2 separate regions of the Homo sapiens genome follow, and region 2 is linked to region 1. The links are contacts of gene promoters, found by promoter capture Hi-C in blood cells and fetal thymus (Javierre and others, 2016). All regions are on one chromosome and are shown on one strand. Each heading gives the region's core, a stretch centred on a gene start or on the middle of the fragment in contact. The rest is flanking DNA. Distances are from core to core; before and after follow the strand shown. Region 1 holds the start of OPN1SW (opsin 1, short wave sensitive). Region 2 has its middle 33 kb from the start of TNPO3.

Region 1 (5,535 bases), core at 3,000-5,499:
TGTCAGAATGGGAACTCTCCTCGAAGTTCTCCCAAACTCAGAGACAGCACTGCCTTCTCCTAAATGATTATTCTTTTCTCCCTGTTTTCTGGTATTTTCTAGCATCCTTCTCACCACAGCCATAACCCTTTTTTACTTCCATTAGGCCGTATAACTGGAGAGACCTGCTGCTCGTTATATAATTATCTGATACCAAACACAAGCGATTCTGAATGTACACACACGTTTATCTATAGAGCATAAGGTAAAACAATTTTGTTTAACATTTTGGTATTGTTTACAAATGTTATTAAAACATGCAAATTCATTTTGAGAACCTCGAGAGAATTAAACTATTAACTTTAGTAAACACACAGTTTAAGACAAATATAAAGGTTTAGCCAAATGCAACGGGGAGGAAGCACCTGGAATAATTTGTGCTTGCTCAGGGGCTTGTGGACATGGCTGTTCCTGCCAAAGCTGTAGCAGTTATCCAAAAGTTCTTTCAAACTCATATTTGGGGCCACTGAGTTTTTTTTGTTTTTTTTTTTGTTTTGTTTTGTTTTTTCTTTATGTCTCTCCCATTTCTAAAGTGTTTTCTTAAGTTTGTTCTAATTCAGCATATATCATCTCAGAATGGATCCCCAGCAGGAAAAAAAAAAAAAGTTACTAAAAAGGAAAGTATCCATACACTGAAAACTTAAAGCATATTCCTTTTTGGTTGCCTTGTATGTAGAAATCAGTTCTCCAAGTGCTGTGAATGGTGCCACTTAGGAGTAGAAACTGATGATTGTTGAAATGGCCTTTGGGTGGTCTGAAATAGACCAGTGGAAACAGTAGCTTTGTAGGCAAGAAGGCAATAGTAAGAAAATGAAAAATTGACTCCCCAAACTGCCATCACTCCTTTTACCATCTTTTTTGTGTTTTTAGTAGTTTGGTTTCTGACGGAGACAATAGAAACTTACTTAAAAGTAAAATTTAATTCTAGCTGTTGCAAACAGGCCAATATTGGGTCCTCAGTTGGGGCCAACTTGGGTAGACGAGACAGTAGAAACTTCTGTTTTCTGGGAGCTGCATGTGTCGGATTCATCTGTCATGGCCTTCCCACACACCATCTTCATGATGCAAGCTTGGAACTGGAGAGAAAGGTACAATTGGAGATAACCTTGGCAGATGAGGAAGTATGGGAAAAAAGACCTTATTCTCTGTATCACCAAAGCCTTGCACAATGCTTTGTACCCAGAATGCCCTTAGGTGGTTTTGAATCTATCTTCCCCATCCTGAAAACTATCTAGATTCCAGTCTAGAACTACTCCTGGGTCTACGGTAATCCTAAACTGGTCAAGTCTGAGACCTCACTGTTGGTAAATTCACAAACCATCCTGCTTCATAAAAGCACTGTCAGCAGAGGCCCCTCCATTACTAGCAGGTGCTCCCAGCTGGAAAGGACTGCCAATTCTCTTCTATCCAGGGAGGTTTCAAATTAGTTTTGAGTCTACCTCTGGGATTGAGGAAACAATACCATCTGAAAGTAGGGTTTTTGCCACTTAGGGTTTGGTGTTTATTAGCTCGGATTTCAGATGGGATAGGAAATCCCCCAGTACCTTCAGATGATAAGATATTTTAGAGATTTTTGCATGTGGTATGATTTCTGTGCTTCACACATGCTCGTGCAGGCTAAAAGTTGGAAGGGAAATGATTAAGAAATTATTAAATGCAAGGACTGAAAATTGAGAGGAATCTGAGTTTTTATTTTTATTTTTTTAATTTTATTTAAGTTCCAGGATACATGTGCAGGATGTGCAGGTTTGTTACATAGGTAAACGTGTGCCATGGTGGTTTGCTGCACGAGTTTTTCAATAAAATGCTTTCATTCATCCTGTTCTTTGGAGCAACTTCATTTTCCTGACTCAAGTTCTTTCCTCCGGGGTTCTATTTTCTCGTCTTGATAACCGTGCCTTCCTCCCTGTGCTTACCAAAGGCTTCCCAACCTACTCGGGGGTTTTGTGGCTTCCCTCGTCTACTAGAAACCTGGGTAGAGTCCAGGGTGCTCTGAGTTAAAAGTCAATGGTGAGAAAAGAACCAGGGTCTTCTGGACCATAGGAATGTGAATAAAGAGCTTTACCTGCTTATTCATGAAGCAGTAGATGATGGGATTGTAGATGCAAGCACTCTTGGAGAAGAATGAAGGAATGGTGACAAGCCGTAAGTCCAGCCCATGGTTACGGTTGTTGACCATGTACATGGCGAAGGCCGCGTAGGGCACGTAGCAGACACAGAAGGATCCTACCATCACAACCACCATGCGGCTCACCTCCCGTTCAGCCTTCTGGGTCGTAGCTGACTCCTGCTGCTGAGCTGCAACCTGGGGTGGAGCACGGAAAGCATCACATCTCTCTTTTTCCTGGCCCTCTGGATGCTTTTTTTTTTTTTTTTTAATTTTTAATTTTTAATTTTCTTTTTGAGACCGAGTCTCGCTCTGTTGCCCAGGCTGGAGTTGCAGTGGTGCAGTCTCGGCTCACTGAACCTCCACCTCCCGGGTTCAAGTGATTCTTTTGTCTCAGCCTCCTGAGTAGCTGGGGTTACAAGCACACACCACCATGCCCAGCTAATTTTCGCATTTTAGCATTTTGCCATGTAGGCCAGGCTGGTCTGGAACTATTGACCTCAGGTGATCCGTCTGCTTCGGCCTCCCAAAGTGCTGGGATTATAGGCGTGAGCCACTGCGCCCGGTCTCTGGATGCTTTTCTGTGGGATGGGGGAGGGGGCATCCACTCTGATTGCCTCTTTTCTGTCCCATCTCCTGGCCTAGTTCCTTTGGATCTCCATCATTCTCCCTCCTCCTACTTCCTTTGCTGCTTTTAGATACCCTCTCTGGCTATGGACATTTCCAGGCATCTTATGTTTCAGAGCACTCTTCCTTCTCATGTGGAGCCCCGAACCCCTTCTTCCCTGACTATCAAATGCCACTCACAGCTTTCAGGGCCCTCAGCAGCTGAGTGTAGGAGAAGCAGATGAGGGAGAGAGGCACAATGAAGCAGAAGATGAAGAGGAACCACGTATAGGACTCGCTGCGGTATTTGGTGCCCACGGTGTACCAGTCAGGGCCACAGGAACACTGCAGGCCCTCAGGGATGAACCTGCAAAGGACCAAACACTTGCTCACTGGACTCTCCACAAGAGTGCAGTGGGAGCTGAGATGCCTGGATTGTGTTCTCCACTTAGAACCCACGGAATGCCCTAAGGCTTCAAGCAGGGGGGTTTTCTGTCCTGACTGGGAGAAGCTACAGCAATTCCAACTGCAGAGTAAACGTTAGCACTTGTCTCCCACTGCCCTTTCGCCTCATATTGCAACTCTTTAAAAGTAGAGGTCAAAGACTAAATAGTTATACCCAAGCTCTCTTTCCACCCACATCAACCTGAGCTCCTAGTTAACTCAGCACCACTGCCCTGCACTCTCACCGGCTCCAGCCAAAGAAGGGTGGGATGGAGACGCCAATACCAATGGTCCAGGTAGCCAGGACCACCGTCAGTGCATGCTTGGAGCTGAAGCGGAAGTTGCCGAAGGGCTTACAGATGACAATGTAGCGCTCAAAGGCCAGGAAGGCCAGTGACCATCCTGTAACCAGACCTGTGGTGAAATGTGAGGATAATGGGCTAGACAGAGCCCCACCCAGCCTGGCTGGCAGAGTGGCAAACAGATCGGGTGGAGCAAGCACAGAGAGACAGGGCTGGACTGACATTTGGAGTGAAGACTCAAACATCCTATTTTAGCCAAACTTCTAGTCTGGGTTGCTTTGTACCCCAGTATTTTAAAAAGCACCAGACTCATTTCCCCCAGACTCCTCTTTAGGAACCCCCTCCAGTGGAGTAGCAACCTTTGCCTTCCCCTAACCCCTTTTTCCCCTGCAGTACCTGCTACAGTGCCCAGGAAGCCCTCCAAAGCACAAACATGGCGACCGAAGACGAAGTATCCGTTACAGCTGGCGACGAAGACAGGGAAGACAGAGAAGATGCAGAGGAGGAAGCCTCCGAAGGACACGTTGACCAGAATGTAGTTGAGGGGCTGCCGCAACTTTTTGTAGCGCAGTGTGGCCACCAGCACCATGGCATTGAGTGGGAACCCTATAAGGAAGACAGTGCCCATGAAAGCTGCCTGGAGGTAGAAGGCCCAGACAGGGGCAATGTGGTACTGAGGCCCATCCCACGGCCCCACTGAAGAGATATTTTTGAACAGATAAAACTCTTCCTCCGACATTTTTCTCATGGATGCCCCACACCCCCCTCTGAGTCCTCTTATAGGTGATCCTCCCACCCCACAAAACCCCTCCTCTAAAAACACTTGGGCTCTGTGAATGATCAATACTAATCCTAAACCTCCCAAGGACAAAGTTTGGGATTAGAAATCCCTAAACCACTACCTAAACCTTTTGTGGCCCCAAAGCCGATTGTGTTCTTCAGAGGATAAGAGATTGGGCTCAAATAATCTGGATATGCAATGCTGGGTGCTGGGATGAACAGAAGTGGACTCCCTGAGGTCTGGGAGGTGCTGACCCATATTCACTGAAGATGCTTCCACTTTTTTGTTCTTTTAATGGGGCTATAGAAAGGGCACGCCTCTTATTTTGGCTTCTGGCACAACTGTATCAGTTAAGTTTTCCTCAACTCATCTGCCCCTTTGTGGAAGGTGCCCATCTTAAGTCTGCTGAGAGGCTAGGAACCAGCCCTGGGCTGCAGGAAAGGGCTGGGAGTGGGGAGTGCCCTGGAAGCACATCAGTAAACAGCCTTGATGGAACAGGACTTAGGCAACTTGACAATGCCTAGAGGTCTAGGGCATCCCTGAGCCAGGCTGCCTCCATTTCTTTGTGTTGAATCTACTCAAAGAGTGTGCCTTTCCTACTCAGACCTCCAGCCAGGGAGGTGGGTCTGTTCACTGTCCTTACGCCATGTTCATGCCTACCCCTACCCTTAGCTCAACAAGTCGCCACAGTCTTCCTCCTGTCTGTTCATTGAAGTCTTATCTAGCCCTCACAGCCTACCTCACAAACACCTCTTCTGTGCAGCCCACCCCAGTGACACCAACTCTGCTTTAAGTTCCACCTGCACTTGTACTCAGTACTACACTTTAGGCTTTATGAATGAATCTTTTCCACCTCAGCAGATCATAAATATATAGATGAGTTGGCCGGGCGTGGTGGCTCAAGCCTGTAATCCCAGCACTTTGGGAGGCTGAGATGGGTGGATCACAAGGTCAGGAGATCGAGACCATCCTGGCTAACGGTGAAACCCCGTCTCTACTAAAAATACAAAAAATTAGCTGGGTGTGGTGGTGGGCGCCTGTAGTCCCAGCTACTTGGGAGGCTGAGGCAGGAGAATGGCGTGAACCCGGGAGGCGGAGCCTGCAGTGAGCCGAGATCACGCCACTGCACTCCAGCCTGTGGGACAGAGCGAGACTATATATATAGATGAGTTAAAAGTGACACACTTTAGGTATAAGTAAGTTTAAAAGTGAAAGGATGGTCCAGTAATGGCAGAATAGTTTATTAGATGAATGCC
Region 2 (5,658 bases), core at 2,660-5,159, 310 kb after region 1:
TTCTAGAATTTTATAGGAATACAATCGTACAATATTTATTCTTTTATTTCCAGTTAACATAGCTTTTATTCAAAAGTCCTTACTCTTGTCTGGTTTATTTCACTTGGTCTAATTATTTTAAGATCTATCCACATTACTGCATGTACTTTAAGTGGGTGAGTCGTACGCTATTTGAATTATCTCTCAATAAAGCTGTTACTAAAAACAAACCACAATGAGATATCACTGCGCACCCATTCGGATGACAAAAATTTAAAAAACAGACAAAAGCAACTGTTAGTGAGGGTAGGGAGAAATTGGAACTCTCATACCCTGCTAGTGAGTGGACTTGTATAATGATGCAGCCACTTTGGAAAACAGTCTGGCAGTTTCTCAAACATTTAAACATAGAGGTATCTTTTGACCCCAAAATTTCACTCCTAAGTGTATATACCCAAGAGAAATGAGAAAATGTGTCTACACAAAAGCCAGTATATGAATGTTCATAGCAGCATTATTCCTTATTTATTATTATACATTTTTTTGAGGTGGAGTCTTGCTCTGTCGCCAGGCTGGAGTTCAGTGGCGTGATCTTGGCTCACTGCAGCCTCCGCCTCCTGGGTTCAAGTGATTCCCCTGCCTTAGCCTCCCAAGTAGCTGGGATTATAGGCATGCGCCACCACGCCTGGCTAATTTTTTGTATTTTTAGTATAGATGGGGTTTCACCATGTTGGCCAGGATGGTCTCCATCTCCTGACCTCGTGATCCGCCCACCTCGGCCTCCCAAAGTGCTGGGATTACAGGCGTAAGCCACTGCGCCCAGCCTATTATTATTATTTTTTGAGACGGAGTCTCGCTCTGTCACCCAGGCTGGAATGCAGTGGCGCGATCTCGGCTCACTGCAACCTCTGCCTCCTGGGTTCAAGTGATTCTCCTGCCTCAGCCTCCAGAGTAGCTAGGATTACAGGTGCCCACCACCACACCCAGCTAATTTTTGTATTTTGTTTAGTAGAGACAGGGTTTTACCATGTTGGCCAGGCTGGTCTCAAACTTCTGACCTCAAATGATCTGCCTGCCTTGGCCTCCCAGAGTGCTGGGATTACAGATGTGAGGCACGGCAGCTGGCCAATGGCAGCATTATTTATAATAGTCAACATGTGAAAAGAACTCCAATGTCCACCAACTGAGGAATGGATAAACAAAATGTGGTCTATCCATACAGTGAAATATTATTCAGCCATAAAAGGGAATGAAGCACTGATACGCGCCACAACACAGATTAACCTTGAAAACATTCAGCTAAGTGAAAGAAGCCAAACACACACATACCAACCCCACATATTGTATGATTCCATTTTTATTTATTTTTATTTTTATTTTTTATTTTTTCAGACAGGGTGTCACTGTCACCCAGGTTGGAGTGCAGTGGCACAATCTCAGCTCACTGCAACCTCCACCTCCCGGGTTCAAGCAATTTTTCTGCCTCAGCCTCCCAAGGAGTTGGGATCACAGGCATGCGCCACCACACCCAGCTAATTTTTGTATTTTTAGTGGAGATGGGGTTTCGCCATGTTGGCCAGGCTGGGCTTGAACTCCTGGCCTCAAGTGATCCGCCCACTTTGGCCTCCCAAAGTGCTGGGATTATAGGTGTGAGCCACCATGCCCAGCCTGATTCCATTTTTATGTGAAATGTCCAGAATTGGCAAATAGAGACAGAAAGTAGATTAGTGGTTGCCCAGGTCAGAGTGAGGGTGGCTGGGGGCAATGAAGGTGACTGCTAAAGGGTACAGAATTTCTTTGTGGGGTAATACAAATATTCTCAAATTGATTGTGATGGTGTTTGCACAACCCGTACATATACTAAAAACTACAAAATTACATATTTAAAATGGCTAATTTTTACCTATGTGAATTATATCTCAATAAAGCTGTTACTGAAAAAATGTTCACTTACTGAGGTCATTCCATTATATGAATATACTTCAGTTTGTCTAGCCATTCATTTATTGAGTCATTGGATTGGCTCCTATTTTTGGCTACTAAAAATAAAGCTGCAGACCAGTGAAGTACTCACACCTGTAATCCCAGCACTTTGGGAGGCCAAGATGGGAAGATGGCTTGAGGCCAGAAATTCGAGACCAGCCTGGGCAATATAGCAAGACCCCATCTCTACAAAAAATTTAAAAATTAGCCCAGCATGGTGGCTTGCACCTGTAATCCCAGCTACACAGGAGGCTGAGGTGGGAAGATCACTTAAGCCCAGGATTTTGAGGCTGCAGTGAGCTACGATCATGCCACTGTACTCCAACCTGAGCAACAGAGCGAGACACTATCTCTAAAAAAAATAAAATTCGGCCGGGCGCGGTGGCTCACGCCTGTAATCCCAGCACTTTGGGAGGCCGAGGCGGGCGGATCACAAGGTCAGGAGATCGAGACCATCCCGGCTAAAACGGTGAAACCCCGTCTCTACTAAAAATACAAAAAATTAGCCGGGCGTAGTGGCGGGCGCCTGTAGTCCCAGCTACTTGGGAGGCTGAGGCAGGAGAATGGCGTGAACCCGGGAGGCGGAGCTTGCAGTGAGCCGAGATCCCGCCACTGCACTCCAGCCTGGGCGACAGAGCGAGACTCCGTCTCAAAAAATAAAAATAAAAATAAAAAATAATAATAAAAATAAAAAATAAAATTCAGGCCAGGTGCGGTGGCTCACGCCTATAATCCCAGCACTTTGGGAGGCCGGGGCAGGCAGATCACAAGGTCAGGAGATCAAGACCATCCTGGCTAACACGGTGAAACCCCATCTCTACTAAAAAATACAAAAAATTAGCCGGGCATGGTGGCCGGCACCTGTAGTCCCAGCTACTTGGGAGGCTGAGGCAGGAGAATGGCGTGAACCCAGGAGGTGGAGCTTGCAGTGAGCCAAAATAATGCCACTGCACTCCAGCCTAGGCGACAGAGTGAGACTCCGTCTCAAAAAATTAAATTAAATTAAATTAAATTAAATTAAATTAAATTAAAAAATAAAGCTTCAAGCCAGGTGTGCTGGCACCTGCCTGTAATCCCAGTTACCTGAGAGGCTGAGACAGGAGGATCACTAGAGCCCTGGAGTTCGAGTCCAGCCTGGGCAACATAGCAAGACCCTATCTCTTAAAAAAAGAGCTGCTATGATTTTTATTTGTCAATTATGCCTCAATAAAGTTGAGGAAGAAAACAATAAAGCTACTATGAACATTTGTGTGCAAGTCTTTGTATGAATATGTGCTTTTTTTGGGTGAATACACAGAGGTGGAAAGGCTAGATCATATGGTAAGTATGTTTAACTTTTTAAGAAACTGATCAGCTGTTTTCCAAAGTGGTTTTATCATTTTACATTCCCACCAACAGTGTATGAGAGTTCTAGTTCCTCTGCACTCTTATTAACACATGGTTTTAATCAGACATCTAATAGGTATGCAGTAGTTTCTGATTGTGATTTTAATTTATATTTCCTTAATGTGAATAATGTTGAACATCTTTTCATGTGCTTATTTGCCATCCATTTTTTTGGTGAAATAACTGTTTAGATCTGTTGCCTACTTTTTGAAAAAAAGTTGAATTCTTTGCTCTTATTTGATTTCCAAAGTTCTTTATATATTCTGGATACACATCCTTTATCAGATATGGGCTTTGCAAATATTTTCTCCCAGTCAGTGGCTGGTCTTTTCATTCTTCTCATGGCATCTTTTCAGGAAAAGAAGTTTTTAATTTTGATGAAGTCCAATTTATCAAATTTATTTCCTATTGACTGTGCTTTTAGTGTAATATCTAAGACATATTATCTAATTAAAGGTCACAAAGATTTTACTTCTATGTTTTCTAGAAGTTTTATAGTTTTAGATTTTACACTTAGGTGCATAATCGATTTTGACTTAATTTTTATACGTGGTATAAGGTATGAATTGAAGTTCTTTTTTTCTTTTTTTGCATATAGCTATCCAACTGTTCTAGCCCAACTCACTGAAACTATTCATTAGAAATTATCCTTTCTCATTGCCTTTGGGTCTTTTTAAAAATCAATTGTATATGTGTGTGTATGTGTGTCTGAACTTTCTATTCTGTTCCATTTGATCTGTTCTATTTGAGCTGTCTATCATGATGTTAATAGCACCTCATCTTGATGACTATTATTTTTTATGAAGCCTTGAAATCAGGTGGTGTTAGCCCTCCAACTTTGTTATTCTCTTTCAAAGATGTTTTGGCTAATCTAGATCCTTTGCATTTTCATGGGAATTTTTAGACAGTTTGTCAGTTTCTATAATTTTTTTTTCCCTGTAAAGCTGAGACAGAAACCCAGGGCTCTGAGGTCAGTCTGCCTAGGTTCAAGTTTTATCTTTACCTCTTCATAACTGTCTGACTTTGGCCAAGTTACCTAACTTCTCTGCAATTCCATTTCTCATTCACAAAGCTGAAATAATAATATTATCAATCTCATGGGGTTGTGAAAGGGCTTAGATGAAGTAATGCAGATAAGGCTGAGAGAATGAAAATACAAACAGACAATGGCCAGATCATATATGACAATAGAACTCTGGGCCACAACCTCTGCAGCAACCCATCCAGGAAGCCAAACCACAGCCTCTGCAGCAATCATCCCAGAACAGTCAGAACTTGACCAAGTCAGTAAGTGCAGCTGCCCTAACTTCTGCCCCCACTTCCAACTCAGGACCAAGCACAGAAAGCCAAATATGGTCCCCAATCCAATCACACTGGATGCTCAATTTCTAGTCAGCCTACCTCTAGCTTTCCCATGCCAACAAGCTCCAATCAAGGCATAGCTGAAGACTTCCCTTTTTTTCACTATAAAGCTTTGCACAGCCCTGCCTGCCTGAGTCTCTGACAAATGCGAGTGATGGTGGCTGAGACCCTGGCTAAAGCAAGCGCTGAATAAACAGCTTCTGTTTCTTCTCACTTGGGTGGTTTTTGTTTATTTCCACAGTGCTTAACACTGTGCTCGCAGAGTTAGTGATTGCCCAATACATTTTATATAGAGCAGTAGAATTGCTTTGTCGTATGAAACTTTAAAAAGAATTCCAATAGATAAATAAAAGTGGCATTTCAACCGTTTATTTTATCTAAGTCAGCCAGTAATAAAGGTAGGACTTTTGCAGTGATCTCAATAACATTAAATGAACATGATGGCTGATCCTTGCAACCACAAGGTTTTTTAAAATCCTGATTCACATAATAAGAAGTTGCAAATGCCAAATTTCTGTTTTCTTTTAAACAGGTCACTTTGCAATTAAATATTTGCAGAACCTCTGAAGCACCTCTTCAAAACTCTAGGGCTCTCAGAAACGTGGAGTAAAAACTTACCCTGATGTGAGGTCAGGGTACAGGGTCTTGATTTCAGTCCTAGTGATGCTGCCACTCTGCCGGATAACCTTGGGCATGACACTTGACCTCTGAGATTTGTTCCTCCCTTGTAAATGGAAAGAGCTGAACTAAAGAACTTCTCAAAATTTAGTGCGCATGGATAACCACATGTATATACTGGAGGAGGGTGCGTGCCCATTTAAAATGTAGGTTTCTGACCCACCCAGTGGCGTCTGAGTCAGGGTCCTGGAATCTGCATTTTAACAAGCACAGCTGATTCTGGTGCTAGTGACAATTGGGCACAATTTGAGCAGCACAGGAGCAAATGGT

The links. Contacts are between HindIII fragments. The CHiCAGO score rates a contact against its expected background, and 5 or more counts as called.
Region 2: a fragment that was not itself captured here is called in contact with the fragment with the promoter of OPN1SW in region 1 in 1 of 17 cell types (M2 macrophages); the score reaches 5.4 in M2 macrophages.

Annotation. Positions count from the first base shown.
Region 1 is chr7:128,771,545-128,777,079 of GRCh38, forward strand. It overlaps OPN1SW (opsin 1, short wave sensitive), which reads right to left and starts at 4,250. Exons shown (of 5, transcript NM_001385125.1): 1 at 3,895-4,250; 2 at 3,442-3,610; 3 at 2,954-3,119; 4 at 2,105-2,344; 5 at 941-1,115. The coding sequence starts at 4,237. The coding sequence ends at 996. CALU (calumenin) reads left to right here. Exons shown (of 7, transcript NM_001219.5): 7 at 1-1,856. RefSeq lists cis regulatory regions at 4,236-4,803, 4,244-5,238, 4,247-5,535, 4,247-5,535, 4,247-5,346 and 1 more. The HindIII fragment of the contact is 6,893 bases long and covers 1,107-5,535 here.
Region 2 is chr7:129,085,170-129,090,827 of GRCh38, forward strand. No RefSeq gene overlaps it. Among named protein-coding and RNA genes, the nearest start is that of TNPO3, 33 kb to the left of the region's middle. RefSeq lists an enhancer at 4,689-4,838. The HindIII fragment of the contact is 1,818 bases long and covers 3,001-4,818 here.